Linked DNA regions of Homo sapiens: region 2 is linked to region 1. Evidence: promoter capture Hi-C in 16 types of primary human blood cells and fetal thymus (Javierre and others, 2016). All regions are on one chromosome and are shown on one strand. The core of a region is centred on a gene start or on the middle of the fragment in contact, and the rest is flanking DNA. Distances in the headings are between cores, read along the strand shown. Region 1 holds the start of TGM6 (transglutaminase 6). Region 2 has its middle 19 kb from the start of LINC03086.

The links. Contacts are between HindIII fragments. The CHiCAGO score rates a contact against its expected background, and 5 or more counts as called.
Region 2: a contact is called between a fragment that was not itself captured here and the fragment with the promoter of TGM6 in region 1, in 1 of 17 cell types (M1 macrophages). The highest score is 5.1, in M1 macrophages.

Annotation. Positions count from the first base shown.
Region 1 is chr20:2,378,935-2,383,585 of GRCh38, forward strand. It overlaps TGM6 (transglutaminase 6), which reads left to right and starts at 1,967. Exons shown (of 13, transcript NM_198994.3): 1 at 1,967-2,041. The coding sequence starts at 2,035. The HindIII fragment of the contact is 23,923 bases long and covers 1-4,651 here.
Region 2 is chr20:2,185,231-2,189,881 of GRCh38, forward strand. No RefSeq gene overlaps it. Among named protein-coding and RNA genes, the nearest start is that of LINC03086, 19 kb to the right of the region's middle. The HindIII fragment of the contact is 1,813 bases long and covers 1,431-3,243 here.

The DNA.
Region 1 (4,651 bases), core at 717-3,216:
TGGCTCCCGTCTGTCATCTCTAGCCTGATCATCAGAATCAGAGAATGTTGGAACTGGTAACACTTAGTTCACACCCGTATTTTACAGATGAAGGCAATAAGGCCCAGAGAAGGTAAGTGACCTGCTGAAGGTCACACAGCCAGTTTGGCCCAGAGATAACAGAACCCAGGACTCTACTGCCAGGCTATGATGCTCACTTCTAAACTGAGTATGGGCCGGGTGCAGTGGCTCTCACTTGTAATCTCGCACTTTGGGAGGCTGAGGTGGGCAGATCACCTGAGGTCAGGAGTTTGAGACCAGCCTGGCCAACATGGCGAAACTGTCTCTACTTAAAATACACAAAAAATTAGCCGGGCATGGTGGCACACGCCTGTAGTCCCAGCTACTCAGGAGGCTGAGGCAGGAGAATTGCTTGAACCCGGGAAGTAGAGGTTGCACCGAGCTGAGATCGTGCCGCTGCACTTCACCCTAGGTGACAGAGCGAGACCCTGTCTCAAAAAAAAAAAACGAGGAGTATGAATTATTATTTGGGGTCTCGAGCAGTGGGGCAGGCAGTGATTTTGATGCCCTGTCTTCTGGGAGCTCCCGTCCAAGCAAGCCCAGGATGAAAGATAAAAGGGCCCTGAATAAGACCATCATTAGTGGGGAGGAGCCTGACCCTGCATAGGCAGAAAAGCAGCTTCAGCAGGGCCCAGGGTCTACAGGGCAGCAGCCTGCAGGGTGTTGAGGAAGGAGCTGCCCTGGGCTGCTGCCAGATGTCAGTAATTATAAGGCTATGTGGGTCTGCAGACAGCTCATTAAAGACGCTTGATCTGCGTGAAACCAGGAAGCAGAACTCAGCCTCTTTGCCACTTTCTGTAAGAAATCCAACCACATCAAACACTTTGGGGTTTTTATGCAGTTTCCTGAATGTTGGGGTGATCCCAGGGAGCGGCCTCATCCTACTGTGCTCAGCACACGGTTGTCTCCTTACCCTTCCTTGTCTCTTTCCCTCGATTCTACCCCCTCCCACTTCCCCTTCCTCACTGGCCCAGGCCACATCCAGCCTTCGATAGCCCCAAGTCATCCATCAAAGCATTTCTCCGGCAAAAAGAAACCTACCCCACCGGCTTCCATGAAAATAAAATCCCCTCTATTTCATTAACAAAAGACCTCAGATGCCTTGAATTCCAGCACCTTCAAGCCCAGAATCTTAGACTTTGAGCTGGAATGGCCCTGAAGAATAATTGAGTCCAATCCCTTTAGTTTGTAGGTAGAAACACCAGGGTTCCAGGAGGGGAGAGGTCTTGTCCAAGGTCACGGGACACCCATGGCCACCAGGCCTCTAAGCTCCTGGCTGGAGGCCACTCACAAAGTCAGGGCAGATGGGCCTAGCTTCTGAGTCAGAACCAGCTCTCCCCTTTTTCTTATCTACCTCCTCTCAAGAGTCTAGTGTCCACCAAGGAAGTCTAGTGGCCCTGAAGGAGGATCATGGACCTCTGCCTCTTTAGATGCCTGCAGAACAGAGTGGAGCTGTGGGCCCAGGAGTCTTCTGCTCTCACCCAGGAGGGGAGAGGGAGCCACAGACTGACCCGGCACTGCAGCGTGCAACCATGTACTTCGGGGTCCTGGCGCTGAGCCTGTTTTTTCTCATTTGAGGGTTGTTGTGAGGGCTAAGAATGGCCAACCATAAATCCGAGTTCCCTCAGTCTTCTCTCTTTCCCCGTTCTTTTTCTTGCCAGGCTTGTGACCTTTCTGAGCCTCAGTTTCTCCACAGTCCCATTCGCAACTCCGTGTTTCCAAGGTCTCTTGGCAGGAGCCACTCCCACAGTGAACCCCTCTAGGTGCAATTACAGGATGATTTTGTGTCTCGTGGGTGTCGCTGCTAGGGTGGAGGGCCACGCCTCCTCTTTTGAATTCTGACTTTCCTGCCTAGGAGTGTCCCAAGGTTTTCCTTGTTAAAATTGGTCTGGCTGGCTGCTGTGACGCGCCACACTGTCCTGACGGTGCACACACTGCTGTGTGGAGGAACAGAGGAGTCCAGCTGGCCTTCACATGGCAGGTAAGTGGGCAGAGCCTGGGGCCTTGGGACACCAGGGCTCATGAGGGGGGCTTCAAGAAACACGGGTCTGTGGGATGACGTTTGATCATCGATTGTTAGGATTTTACAGCTGGATAGTCCACCATGAACACATGAACTCTTCGTGTGGATTCATGAGGCCCAGGATGAAAAAGCCAGCTTTAAGCCACCCAGCAAGGCCATGGCCCAGGCTGGCTCAGGCGCTGTCTCCTGGGCTGGGGCCAGGTCTCACCCCTGTGCCTCGGAGGACTGAAGGAGGCAGGCACAGGAAGGCAGGGGCAGAAAAAAGAAAATCTCCTTGCACCCCATGCACATTCCATGGATCCAGAGACGTTTCTGGGCATAGTTGGGAATTGTGGCCTGCGTGGGAAGGAGTGAGAGGCCCCCACCGGCTGCATCCTCGCCTGATTCCCACCCCAAGCACTTGAGGGCAAGAGCAGCTCTGGCTCAAGTGAAAACAGCTATATGACCTTGAGCAAGAAAATTTGCCCTTGGTACCTCTGTTTTCTGATCTGTGTAATGGGGATTATAATGCAAATTATCTCACAGCCTTGCTGTGAGGAGTTGGTGAGACCACGTGTGCTGTTCTCCCACCACACATCTCAAGTGGGGACTTGTAAACAGTAGACTCAGAAAATGTGGGTCGGGCACAGTGGCTCACGCCTCTAATCCCAGCATTTTGGGAGGCTGAAGGGGGTGGAATTCTTGAGCTCAGGAGTTTGAGACCAGCCTGGGCAATGTGGCAAAACCCCGTCTCTACAAAAAAATACAACAATTAGCTAGGCATGGTGGGGAACACCCAAAGTCCCAGCTACTTGGGAGGCTGAGGTGAGAGGATCGCTTGAGCTTAGGAGGTAGAGGCTACAGTGAGCCAAGATGGTGCCACTGCACTGCAGGCTGGGCAACAGAGTGAGACCCTGTCTCAAAAAAAAAAGAAAGTAAGATAATGTGTCCCCCACGACCTCAATATAGTGAGCAGCAAACTCCCTCTGCAAGAACTTGTCTTAGATGCTGGGGCCCGGTAATGAGCAAGTCAGCAGAACCAGGGGTCCTACACTCACAGGTATTCAAGGGGTGTTTCTGAGTCTGTGTCTGCCAGTTTTAATTGTTCAGCATTATGTGACAGTTTTATGAATCAAATATTTTTTTAACTTTCAAAGGCAGATATTTGAATTTCCTCATCATAGTCTAGCTTCCTCTTCATATTTCCTCCTGGCAGTTAACAGCATTGCTGGACGTGTTGGGCCCTTCAGGCTCCTAGGATAGGTCTGTTCTGAAGACCAGGCCTTGCCAACACCAGCTCACAGCCCAGACTGCCTGTTTCCAGAGCTGGGGTTGCCTCCCTGATGGCCCTGGTGCAGAGGGGATTGCCTTTGTTCCTCCAAGATCTGCTTCTCAAAGTTCACCTAGATGATCCCTCTTCCCTGGGCCTTTGATAACCTATCAGACTTAAACTTGACAGTGCGAAGGTTAGTTTCTGAGGAAGGAAAAAAGTTGATGATGATGCCCATTGTCAGGTCTGTAACTAACTTGCTGGGTTCCTCTCTCTGAAGCTCTGTTTCTCCGTCTGTGAAATGTCAGCATTGGAGTTGTCATGCCTATGTAAATGGACTATGTGTTGGATTGGATTCAATTCCTGGGTCTTCTGGGTCCTCTTGGCTTCTTGGGAGGATCTGTTCCTCAGAGCAGTAGGTCCTGCCTACCACACACTCTGTGCCTGAATGACTGAGACATCAGATCCTAGATGGAAAGTGTATTCATCTTCCTGGAGCTCCTTCTATCCCCCCTCCCTCACTCCATCCATGGTGGACATCCCTAGTTGACCCCAGAGCTCTTCCCTCTGGAGCCTGGATGTGGCCCCAGAATGCTCAACCCAGCTCTTTAAGTACCAGTTGATCAGTGTTGGCAAAGGAGGTGAGACCCTTTTGCCATGATTAAATTACAATCATCTTTCAGCTCAGAGATTCCAAGAATTGAGTGGAATACTGTATGTGAGGCTGGCTCTGGCTGGGACATTGGGTTGGAGTTGATGAGTCACTGCCTCCTGGTGAAAGAGAGGCCAGCAGCTTCCAACAAGACCAGGAAGGAAAGAGAGATGGGGCAGTGGCCCCAGAAAGGCCCCAGGCAACTCTCGATAAATCATTTAGTCATGGAGTTCAGGTGCTCATGATGCGTACTAAGCATAGGATTATAATGGGGCCCATTAAAAACCAATTATGCTTAGTCCAGAGTCTGGAAGATGCCACTGGCTTCAACAGAGTTTCCAGGGCTCAAGCCCACTGGCCTGAGACAAAGAATTGGGGAGGATTGTATCATTCAGCTCTCTGGTATCACCCAAGGGCAGGAGGAGGAAGATGGATGAGCTAGGCTTGGGGGTGGGGATGGGTGGAGAGCTAAGTCGGCAGGAGGCAATGTTCTGCACATGGACCCTTCCCTTTCTTAGGTGGAGCTCTGGGGCCAGCTGGTGAGCAAATTAGTTGGGGAGGAGGTCAGAGGGCCAGAAGTGATGGGCAGGGCCTGACTGTCAAGGACCTTCAATGCCAACAAGATGGCTGTAGATTCCATGGTGCTTGAGCAGGGAAAATGACATGC
Region 2 (4,651 bases), core at 1,087-3,586, 190 kb before region 1:
GCCTCCCGGGTTCAGTCCTGAGTAGCTGGGATTACAGGTACGTGCCACCACGCCCAGCTAATTTTTGTATTTTTTAGTAGAGATGGGGTTTCGCCTTGATTGGCCAGGCTGGTCTTGAACTCCTGACCTCAGGTGATCCACCCACCTTGGCCTCCCAGAGTGCTGGGATTACAGGCATGAGCCACCAGGCCCAGCCCAAAACCTTTTAGATATTTAAATAACGCTTGTAATATATTGACCCTTAAGCCTTCTTAAATGTACCAAATCAGTTTACACACTTAACAAAATTGCTTATACTTTTTAATGTAAAATCATAAATCTAAACCAATTACTCAATTACACATTTCAATTAAAATAATGAATTAATCTCTTAGATACTCCAATATGCCCCAAAATCTTAAATATTACAAGTACTAAAAAAATACTAGACATGAACAAATTATTTCTGAACCAAACATAAAAAATTCAAGTTGTGGATATGATTTATTCATTGTTTCTGTGAACAATACTAAAACATTTTGGAATTAGACTCTTCCCCACTTCAAAAACATTTACAGCATCCTTGGCAAGACAGTGTCCTTGTCACAGAGCAAAGCATACAGATAGACTTGTGAAAGATTGGGCTGTACCCAAAACATGATTCAGGGCTAAGCTGCTGTTGAGACATGCTGAAACGTACTTAGAGTTGCCACAACAGGGACCCCATAAATTCTACAGAGGTTGTAGCAAAGTAGTACTGAGGGGTAAGAGGCAATGCTTCAGTCACATAAGCTATTGTAGCCCATCATAAGGACTTTAGCCCTGAGTAAGAAGGGAAATCTTTGAGGATTTTGAGTAGAGAAGTGATATTCTCCTGATATTAAGGTTGGACATAAGGCCCAATTCTTACCAATGAGTTGTGAGAGGAATTGTGCCTGAAGGTTTCTGAGAAAGGTTTTTTCAATCTTAAAAAGAAATATGAGAAAGCAATCTCCTAACACACACTGTTTTATTTTACTCTAGATATTGTCTCATGAAGATATGATACCTGGAGCCATGGCAGTAGTTTTATGACTATGAGGAAGTTAGATGAAAACAATCTGACACTAAATACAACAAAGATGAAACTTTTAAAGAACAGCTTTATTGACATATAATTCACATACCATATGATAGACCTACTTCGATGGTTTTAAGTGTATTCACAAAGTTGTGCGACCATTACTCCAGACAATTTTAGAATATTTTCATCACTACGGAAATAATTTACCATTAACAGTAGCTTGCCACTTCCTCTCAACTTCCCCAACCCTAGGCAGCCATTAAATTGCTTTCTGTCTGCATAGATTTGCCTATTTTGAACATTTTGTATAATGGAATCATATGACATGTGGCCTTTTCTTGCTGGCTTCTTTCGCTTAGCATAATATTTTCAAGTTCATCCATGTTGAAGCTTATATCAGTATTTCATTCCTTTTTATTGCTAAATAAGATTCCATTGTATGGGTATATCACATTTTATTTATCCATTAATCACTTGATGGACTTTCAGGTTGTTCCCACTTATTTAGGATTCCAGGTTTATCTCTTAAATTGTTTTCTAAATTTCATTTTTAGATTGTTTGTTGCTGGCATATAGAAATACAATTGATTTTTGTATATTTACCTTGTATCCTGCATAGTTGCTGACTTGTTCATTTATTATAATAGTTTTGAGTGATTTTTAAAGGTTTTCTCTATACAAAATTATGTCATGTTTAGTAAAAATAGTTTTACTTCTTCCTCTCCAAGTTAAATGTCTGTATTTATTTTTCTTGCCTGTTTTTTCTGGTTATAACCTCCAGAATAGAAGTGGCAAATATCCTGCGTTAGTTTGCTAAGGATAAAACAAACACAAAAAACAACAAAAAAAGAAGTGGCAAATAGAAGTGTTGAGAATGGACATCTTTTTCTTGTTCTTGATCTTAAGGGGAAAGTATTCAGTTTTTCATCATTATGAATGATGGTAAATGTGGGTTTTTGATAGAGGCCCTTTATCAAGTTGAGAAAATTCTTTTGTGTTTCTAGCTTGTTGATGTTTTAAAATCATAGAAGTGTTGTATTTTCCCAAATGCTTTTCTGCCTCTGTTGAAATGACCATGTTGTTTTTCTCCTTTGTTCTATTAATATTGTATATTACATGAATTGATTTTTGGATGTTAAACCAGCCTTGCATTCCTGGGATAAATCCCACTTGGTTGTGGTTTATAATACTTTCTATATGTTGCTAGACTTGATTTACAGGAATTTTGTTGAAGATTATTGCATCTATATTTATGAGAGATATTGATCTGTAACTTTCTTGTAATGTCTTTGCCTGATTTTAGTATCAGGGTAATATTGGTTTCATAGGAGTTGGGAAGTGTTCTCTCTTTCTATATTTTTTTGAAGAGTTTGTGAGAGATTGATGTTAATTCTTCCTTAAACATTTGATAGAGTTTACCAAGCCATCTGAGCCAGAACTTTTCTTTGTGATAAGTTTTCTGATTCAGTATCTTTACTTGTTATAGATCTATCAGATTTTCTATTTTTTCTTGAGACGGTTTTGATGGTTGTTTCTTTTTAGGAGTCTGTGTGTTTCATCTAGTTTACCTAATTTGTTGGTATATAATTGTTAACAATATTCCTTTTTAGATTTTGTAATGTCCCCCCTTTGATTCCTCATTTTAGTAATGTGAGTTTTTCTCTCTCTTTTTTGTTTTTTGATCAATCTAGCTAAAAGTTTATCAATGCTGTTCATCTTTCCAAGAACTAGTTTGGGTTTTGTTGGGTTTTTCTCTATTGTTTTTCTGTCTATTTCACTTCTTTCTACTCTATATTTACTATTTCTTTCATTTAGCTTTAGTTTGCTCTTCTTTTTCTTGTTTCTTAAAGTGGAACATGGGGCTGTTGATTTGAGGTTTTTCTTCTTTTTGAATATACATGTTAACAGCTATAAATTTCAATCTGAGTGCTGCTTTAGAGTGTTTTGTTGCTTTTCCACATATTTATATAATTCTTTGCATGTCTCACAATTTTTTTTTTACCTTTCCTATGGTACTGAACAATTTTTTTGAAAAGTGGACATTTTAGATAATATGTTGTAGCAACTCTGAATACCAGTTCTCCATGCTCCCACAGATTTGTTGTTTGCTTGTTTATTTGGTTAGTAACTTTGCTAGAGCAATCCAGCACTCTTTCTATGTATTCAATATTTCTCCCAATATGAAAGGACAAGAGAAATAAAGCTTTCTTCCATAATAAATATTCTTTTTATATTTCAGGAAAGTCTATTTCCCTCACAGGGTGCAGCATCTGATGTTGTTCCTCAAAGAGCTCAGCCTTGGGCATGAGCACAGCCTCTCTAGGATGCCACTGGTTTTAGCAGGGCTCTCTTTGACTGTCTTTTTCCTTTATCTCTGTTATGCTGTCTGCCTCTGTTGGTATCATACCTAGATATTAGCTTCTACCAATTGATGGTTGATTGTTCTATTGTTTTTGACAGTGCTGTGAGGCAAAAATTGCTCTACAATAGGATTCTGTGATATTTGGGCCCCTTTACAGGGGTAGTCTTTAAGGCCAGTTTTTGAGTCTTGTTCTGATCCCAAAGAGCTTTTCTTAACTGTCTCTTTCCCTGATTATTCGTGTTAAACTACTAGATGGTTTAGGTTTAGCTTCTTTTTTTCAAGAAGCTACTTGTCTCCTCGTAATTTCTTACCACCAAAAGATCCATTGTTTAATTACCACCAGTTACCTCTCCTTGCCCCACATTCATATTTTGTTCATATCATTTGATTTGAACTTCCCTCTACACTCTGTTCACAATAAAGCCTGTTCCCCTAGGGGAGAACATTGAAGCTCTCTGTTCTGAAGGCCTCTCTCTCCCTCTAGACAAAATCTCTACACCACTGCTTCAGAGCTAGGGGTAAAGACAGCAGCCTCTTCCTCTTGCAGCAATATCCAGACTTTACAAGTAGTGTGCTTGTGGTGGTGGTTGTCTCTGGTCTGCTCAGTTTGCCTCTCTCAGTGCAGAACTTCTCCCTTATGAGCAACATGAAACGAGGGCAATCAGGGTCCCAGTATTCTCAGACTGACAAGTCTCGGGTAGAGCTCCTACCCTGTGAGTGAGCGGGGACTGGGTAGAGAAAGGAACTCCAGATCTCTCAGCTGCTCTTGCCTGGAATTTAGCTTCTACAACATAGAGCTAGGGGAATAAGTGTTTCTGGTAACCTGCAATATTCCTGCCCTCTGGGGGAAGAGGAAATCCTATGTTCTTGTCTGCACCCACCTGTGGCAGAGCTTCATCGTGCTGAGCTGGGGGAAGCGGAAAGGAACAGGCTATGGCTCAGATACCCCAGATGCATGCTATTCTTACCATGAAATGTTTCTTTATTTGCTATATGCCTTTCTTCTTCTTCTTTTTTTTTTTTTCCTAGAGTGAGTGATAGAGTGATGGAGTCTCACTCTGTCGCCCAGGCTGGAATGCAGTGGCATGATCTCGGCTCACTGCAACCTCCGCCTCCCAGGTTCAAGAGATTCTCCTGCCTCAGCCTCCCAAGTAGCTGAGATTACACAGGTGTGTGCCACCACACCCAGCTAATTTTTGTATTTTTAGTAGAGATGGGGTTTCACCATGTTGGTCAGTCTGGTCTCA